2 separate regions of the Homo sapiens genome follow, and region 2 is linked to region 1. The links are contacts of gene promoters, found by promoter capture Hi-C in blood cells and fetal thymus (Javierre and others, 2016). All regions are on one chromosome and are shown on one strand. The core of a region is centred on a gene start or on the middle of the fragment in contact, and the rest is flanking DNA. Distances in the headings are between cores, read along the strand shown. Region 1 holds the start of SLC25A36 (solute carrier family 25 member 36). Region 2 overlaps DIPK2A (divergent protein kinase domain 2A).

Region 1 (3,538 bases), core at 843-3,342:
CAGCAAACTACCATGGCACATGTATACCTACATAACAAACCTCCACATTCTCCACATGTATCCCAGAACTTAAAGTATATTAAAAAAAAAAAAAAAAAAGGAACTGGTAACAAAGAAAATCTCAGAAAGTTTCTTACTCTTTTCAGTTAAGAGAAGGATGGAATATATGTAAATTTAAATTTATATAAACATTTTTCCTAACTAAAAAAAAAACTATGTATGAATTTCAAACTTTTTTGCACCAAAAATTCGTACTCACTTGTTATAATGTATCTGAACAAGATCTAGTTTGAGGCACTAAAAAGGATAAGACATCAGCTTGAAAACAGCCCCTATCAGAGCAGCATGAATTGAAGCAAGAAAAAACATCAAATTTATGGTCAAGATTGGGTGGAAGAATGGTGAAATCAAGGATGCTTTACAAAAGTTTGATGGGGAAAATTCCCCCAAAGAAATCTGAAGTTTACAAATGGATAACTTGTTTGCAGAAGGGATGAGACAATGTTGAAGAGGAAGCCTGCAGTGGCAGACAATCCACATCGATTTTTGAGGAAAAGATTATTCTTCGGTGTGCCCTAATTGAAGAGGACCCACAATTAACAGCACAAATAATATACAACACCATAGACATTTCAACTGGTTCTACTTACACATTTCTCACTGAAAAACTGAAGTTGAGCAAACTTTTCACCCGATGGGTGCAAAACTGTTGCACCCAGATGAGCTGCAGACAAGAGCAGGGCTTTCAATGGAAATTGTAAACAAGTGGGATCATATATTGAAACATTTCTTTGAAGAATTGTAACAGGAGATCAAACATAGCTTTCTCAGTATGATTCTGGATCAAAGCAATAGTTACCAAGAGGTGCAAGTGGTCCAGTCAAATCAAAAGTAGACTGGTCAAGAGCCGAAGTCATAGCAGCAGCTTTTTGGGATGCTCAAGGTATTTTGCCTGTTGACTTTCTGGAGGGTGGAAGAGCAATAACATCCGCTTACTATAGGAGAAAGTGAAGCAAAGCTTTAGCATAAAAACACCTACGAAATCTTCACCAGAGAGTCCTTCTCCATCAGGACAATGTTCCTGCTCATTCCTCTCTTTAAATAAGGGCATTTTTCCAGGGATTTCGATGGGAAACTATCAGGTATCCATCTTACATTCCTGACCTGGCTCCTTCTGACATATTTTTGTTTTCTAATCGTGAAAAATCTGTAAATGGCACCCATTTTTCTTCAGTTAATAACGTAAAAAAGCCTGCATTTTCATGATTAAATTCCCAGAACCCTCAATTCTTTACAGATGGACTAAAGAGCCGGTATCATCACTTACCAAACTGTCTTTAACTTGATGGAGCTTACGTTGAAAAACAAAGTTTATATTTTTAAATTTTATCTTTTAATTCCATTTCCCATGAACTTTTATTCTTTTAAAAACAAACCCAAGTATTTTAATTCTACTTGCCTTTTTTACTTATTACACACTTCGGGAGATTTTTTGCCATATGGAATCACCTCATCCCTTGTCACGATTGCATAATATTCCATAGTAGGAATGTTTCATGATTTATTTCTTCATTCCCCCACTGATTTCAATTTTCTGCAACTGCAAGCATTGTTCATAATTCTGTACTGTTTGTGAGCCTATATAGGAGTATCCGTGCACAAACCTTTTTATGCATTGTGCGAGGGTTACTCTGAGATAGACACCAAGGGAACTGCTGGGTCATAAATCCAATTTTTTCAAAGTAAATCCGCTTGCGAACCCGGAACCAAGTCGATTTTTCCCGCCCCGCCAGTTCCCTGTTCAGGAGAGTGCAGCCGTGATTGGCGCGTTCACTCAGGCCAGGGGCGCCCCAGGTCTCAGGTGCTAGGAGCGCGGTGACCTACCACCCTCCGGGCACGCGTTCTGGCCACGCCTCGCGGCCCCTTTCATTGAAAGAGCCCGTAGGGATCACGTGAAAGAACACTGCAGAGTGCGTGACGTCACGACGCTCACACCAATGGGAGCCTCTGTTTATGTCGGGAGCCATCAAATAGTCATCTTCCCCCTACCATCCCCCGCCCACTCTCCGTCGCGCTGCGCTGCGTCGCTTTCAGCCTCTGGTGAAGGGCGGCGCGCTTAGGCAGGCGGTGGCGCGGCTGGAGTGCCGCGGGGAGGGCTGTGCCGGTTGCTTTCTGCAGCCGCATCTCGGCCAGCTCTCCTCGCCGTCCCCGGGGCGCTGTGCGTCTCCAGTCCGGGACCGAAGCCGCCTGCCGTAGCGGGCGGCCAGATCCGCGTCCCGCCTCAGCGGCCGGAGGACATGCGGGAGAGAGAATGAGCCAGAGGGACACGCTGGTGCATCTGTTTGCCGGAGGGTAAGGTCCTGGCGGGGCGTGCGCACTGGGGCTGAGGGTGCTGGGGCCGAAGACGCAGGCGAGGGGGGCGAGGGGGGCCGAGGGGGGTGGGGGGGTGGGGGGGCGGGAGTGAGGCCTGGGCGGGGAGCTGCCACGGGCCTGCGGGTGAGGGGAGCGACCCAGCCCGTGGGTGGTGAGGGGGGCTCCGGTTCGGGGAAGCAAGGGGGTGAGGCCCGGGCCCGAGGGCGAGAGAGTGAGGCCCGGGCAAAGAGGGTTGAGGCATGAAACCCGGGCCGGGAGTGAGGTTTTGGGCCCGCGGGGCCGGGGTGAGGCGGAGGCCGAATCCATGCGTCTGAGGAGACGCGGGCAAGAGCTGGGGTCGGCGCTTGATTACCCGGACGCCGCTGGACCTGGCCGCACGCCGCAATCTAGCAGGCGTCGGGGATCCAGGGCCGCTTTGAGGAGCCTGGCTTCGGATTTCGCGTAGGTTGCATGGCCCAAGGGGACGGGGCGGAAAGTGCGGAGGCTGAGGACAAAATGGGCGCCGGAGACTCCTTTAGCCCTCGCTCCTTGCAGCGCTCGCTTGGGCCTCTGCACGTCACTCACGCCCCACCTCGGACCTCGGGCCGCTCATTTCCGGGCTCGGCTTTGCAAGGTGGGTGGTAAGGGGGCTACGGGATCGAGCGGGGAAGGCTTTGGTATTCTCCCGTGGTTGCTGTAGGGTGTTTCTAGCCCTTGGAAAATTTCTTGCCCGAGGTTTTCCAGGTGGTGAATGGGGTGCAAAGCTTTCCAGTACCTTTGGGGTCAGATTCCTTTCGAGAAAACCACCCCTCTTGAACACCGCTTGCTTTTCTGCTGCTTAGGAGAAAGTAGGAGTGGAGAGAGGTCAGATTTTTTGAAGATAGTGTTAATAGTTACTATGTGTGTGCAAGATTAGGACTAAGCCTAAAGTCTTAGTTCCCTGATTGCCAAAATGAGTGTTAGAGCTTCCAGTTTAGCCTCCTGTTTAGATTTGCTCCTTCTAAATCATTTGGAGAATCATAGCAATTTTAAGAGTTACTTATTTGGAGGATTATAAAGAGTTTTCTTATCAAAAATGCCTTCGGTGAATTATGCTGAGACTCTTACCGGCATCTTCTTAAATCCTGCAGTTTTTAGATCGACTTTTAAGAATATGAAAGAAATACACACGCAGTTCTATTCACGG
Region 2 (3,887 bases), core at 1,187-3,686, 3.0 Mb after region 1:
TTTAGTGATGAAACAGCCTTTTTTGAAAAAGCACAATTATTTTCTTATATATGACACATAATGACACAGCTACTTTGAGTGGGTAAACACATGGGCCATAGGATAAGAATTTGTTTTTAGTATGTGATGAAACATGTCTCCACGTTTTAGAGTGAGGTTTGTAAATTACATTTTTAATTTACACAACCCAGTTCCCAGGAATAGTACTAATACTAATATATGTATTATAATTATAGCTGAGTACATACTGTGTAATATAATTTTGGGGTCTTTAGTACCAGCCAGTCATATAGGCATGTAATTTTTTTAAAACCTGATTAACAAGCAAGTAGAGGAAGAAGATATTTTTAAGTAAGAGTTTTCAGAGAGCCGCTGCTTTCTTTGTAGAATCACTTGATCTTTGGAAAAAGCTAGTGAATTTACAAGTCTGAACAATATACTTGAGGTTTGATGATTGTATAAAACCACCAAAATGAAAGGTATCTCAACATTCTGTGATCAAGTACAAAAGTTGCTGTACAGTAAGTCAAACCATGATGTTCATTACCTTTGTTAGCTAGGAAACTACATTTTTAGTATTTATACAGGTTTTTATAAAACTGTTTATAGCTGTTTACAGTAATACTGGGATATTAATTGATACAGAAAAACTCAGATTTGGCTGTCTATTGCTTCATGTATTAAAAAATATATTTTTAAGAGTACAAGTGTTTTAACAGCTTGAAGAGGAACTCACTTTTTTCCTCCAGGAGAGGGAGCTACTTGTCGAATTTTTGGACAGCTGGTGACAAACTAGATTTTTCTTATATTGTCCAAAAATTAACAACTTCAGGGAAAAAAAAGTCTTTGAACTGACTTCATCCAAGTATTCTTAACAAAACTTCCAGTATCGTAAGCATGCTTCAAAATAAGCATGTAAAAATTTCTTTTGATAAGGTGTTTAAGAACTGAAAAATACTTACGAATTTAATCCATTAAACTCACCTCTTCTGATTTGAAAAAACAGTAAAAAATTGAAGTTGCTATTATTCCTTGAAAGGAGAGGTGAAAGACATTAAGTGTCTAAGATGTTTACACACATACCTTATCTATGTAAGGCTGTAAAGATTTGTGATATAAATTTCCCCATATGAAATGGCATGAGAGTATGGCTTTCTTCTTATTGTTGGATAGTTTCACTAGTTTACAACAGTTTACCCATAGAATTATTATCTTCTAAAAAATGTTTATAAACATCAAGCAACAAGATAATGCTAGTAGTACCTTTATCTTCTACTCTGATACCCTTTCCTCGTCGTCACATTTTTACTTCACTAAGATGTGTGTATTTTAGTGCCAGGTATACTGTAATCCTATGAAAAAAAAAATGGAGGAGAGGAACTATGTTGACTTTTATATTGTGTAAATAGGAATCTTGAAGTATTCAAAAATTGAGTTGTTGAAGTAATTGGCAAGATCACAAGTTATTGTTGATAAATTTTCCATCGTATTTGTATTTAACCTATTGAATTTACAGAAAGGGAGAGTGTGTGTGTGTGTGTGTGTGTGTGAGAGAGAGAGAGAGAGAGAGAGAGAGAGATGCTGTCTGGATTTGTTGAAGTTCAGACAGAATCTCTGACTTTATAACCTGGAAGTAGTGAAGATGGTCTTGTTTGTAGGAAATGGAGAAAGCTCTTTGTTGTTTAGGGGGACGAGCTGGGAATGTTACTATTTGTGGAACTTCATTTGCCTTAAATTTTCTGAATCATGGTTTTAATAGGATTTACTTTATTTTTATAGTATATGACTATCATTAAGCTATGGTTTTTAAGCTTGCTTTTCTATTCTTATAAATGATATAATACATGCAAAGCACTTCACGTAGTATCTGGTAAATTGTAAGCATTCAATAAATGTTAGATATTGAATAAAGTAAAGGTAACTTTAACTGCCTGGTGCATTTGATCAGCTGTTTTGAAGCTCATTTGGGGTATGGATCACCTTAAAAATAATGGTGATTTTGAATATCAACCATACTTTAGTTATACTGATTTTTTTCCATTATTACTTTGATATAATTTTTTGTAGAAAACTTTCAGTGAATGTTGTTTTTGCCTTTAAAAGTAATTTATATAGGGAACAACATATTTTTTAAGTTCACTGGTGAAAATGTAGTTTTTGAAGTAAACAAAAGATTATTTAGCTAACGGTACTTTAGAAAAGTTGATAGATTTTTACTATTGGACTCACTTCCTTCTTTATAAAATGAAGCTATTGGATTAGATCCTTTTCAGCTCCAACATTCTGGGGCTTTCAAACTCTTGAGAAATTTGGTTTTTATTGTTGTTGTTGTTGTTGTTGTTTTCTTTTGAACTTTAACGAGTGGGTTTAATTAAGCTCTTCTGAAAGGGGATTGGGAGTGGGATGCTCTCTTTCAAGCCTTTCTTCCTACCCCCAAATTTTTACACACATGAAATAAAACAAAAACCAAAACCTTCCTTTAAGGGGAAATATGTGGAGTTAAGGGTAGCCAAGGATCTTGTGAGGCAATAGTGTGCAAAACGATGTTCCAGACTTTGTTTCAGGAGTTTCTTTTCAAACAACAGTTTAAGGAACCACCTACTTCTCCTTTACTGGCTGTTTCTTTAGTAACTGTCTTCCTAGATTTCGGCTTCAGAACACATTAGAGATGGTTCTTAGTAGAGCAGTTTTTAATCTAATAAATTTTGTAAGTTTTTGAACTTTTTGTGGCTTTTCATCTGAGAGTCCATTGACACTTTTGATTGCTCTTCAAGATAATCAAACAAAAATAATAAAACAATTTTGGATACCTCAAGTCCAAAAAGGGGGTGGGGACTTTTATTTTAGAAAGACCCTAGAAACAGACAATCGCCCTTAAGAAAGCATCACTTCAGAATCAGTAGAGCAAAGTCATTTGACATCCTGGACTAGTTTCTGGACATATCCATATCTTTTGACCATTTTGAATTTTGTCCTTTGTATACTTTTGTCTAGTCTTTGAACTATTCTTTATATTTCCATTGCATAGGTTAGCACATATTCTCACACATGTTGGGAAATAGAAAGCTTGTTTTTATAGGTCTTCTGGACATGGGTGTCCAGCTTCTCAGGGGATTGTCAGACTGGTTTTTATTCTGTTTTTTTGGTTTGTGGGCTCTGGCTTACTTCCTATTTTTCTGTCATTGCTGCTGACTCTTCACAGAATGCTATTTTTTTCTTTCTTCAGCTTTCACTCATTACCCATATGTTAAATTATGGCCTTATAATTTAAATCCTGCATTTTTCTAATACATTTGATGAACTTTAGTAAATGGTTGTAACATGACTGAAAATTATTAGTGTAAGGTGAGGTTAGTATAAGGTGATAGGAAGTTGTCTGTGAAATTCTTGAGAGCTCTTTGAATTTATAACCAAAAGAACTGAATTTGTCTGTTCATTTTACAATCTGTTACAAGGCATTTGGATTGAAAGGATGGAAAGATGGCCGTAGGAAACAAGTAGCTTACTATGTAGGAGGTAGGTACACAAATAACTAATTATTATACAATCCATTTAATAAGCCCTGTACAAAAGGTATCTATATCTATCTATCTATCTATATATATATATCTATATCTATATATATATATATATCTATATATATATATATATATCTATATATAGATATATATATATCTATATATATATATATATATACTGTCACATGACTCAGGGAGGGACATCTCATTGTATATTGATAGGAATGGTACCAGGGAAAGTTTCAGAGATTTTGCCAATAGATGGGGGTGGAGAGTGGGAGGAAGGGTGGAGGGGGCAGTATTGATAGAGCATCCATTTCACATTCTGTATTACCACAAAGTTGTTGGATGGTATTGAGCAAGTCACTT

What was found. Contacts are between HindIII fragments. The CHiCAGO score rates a contact against its expected background, and 5 or more counts as called.
Region 2: a contact is called between a fragment that was not itself captured here and the fragment with the promoter of SLC25A36 in region 1, in 1 of 17 cell types (activated CD4 T cells). The highest score is 5.4, in activated CD4 T cells.

What each region holds. Positions count from the first base shown.
Region 1 is chr3:140,939,744-140,943,281 of GRCh38, forward strand. SLC25A36 (solute carrier family 25 member 36) reads left to right here and starts at 2,093. Exons shown (of 7, transcript NM_001104647.3): 1 at 2,093-2,352. The coding sequence starts at 2,312. RefSeq lists enhancers at 2,067-2,436, 2,530-3,377, 3,017-3,246. The HindIII fragment of the contact is 2,098 bases long and covers 1,017-3,114 here.
Region 2 is chr3:143,975,007-143,978,893 of GRCh38, forward strand. All of the region lies in intron 1 of DIPK2A (divergent protein kinase domain 2A), which reads left to right. Among named protein-coding and RNA genes, the nearest start is that of DIPK2A, 5.1 kb to the left of the region's middle. The HindIII fragment of the contact is 1,255 bases long and covers 1,810-3,064 here.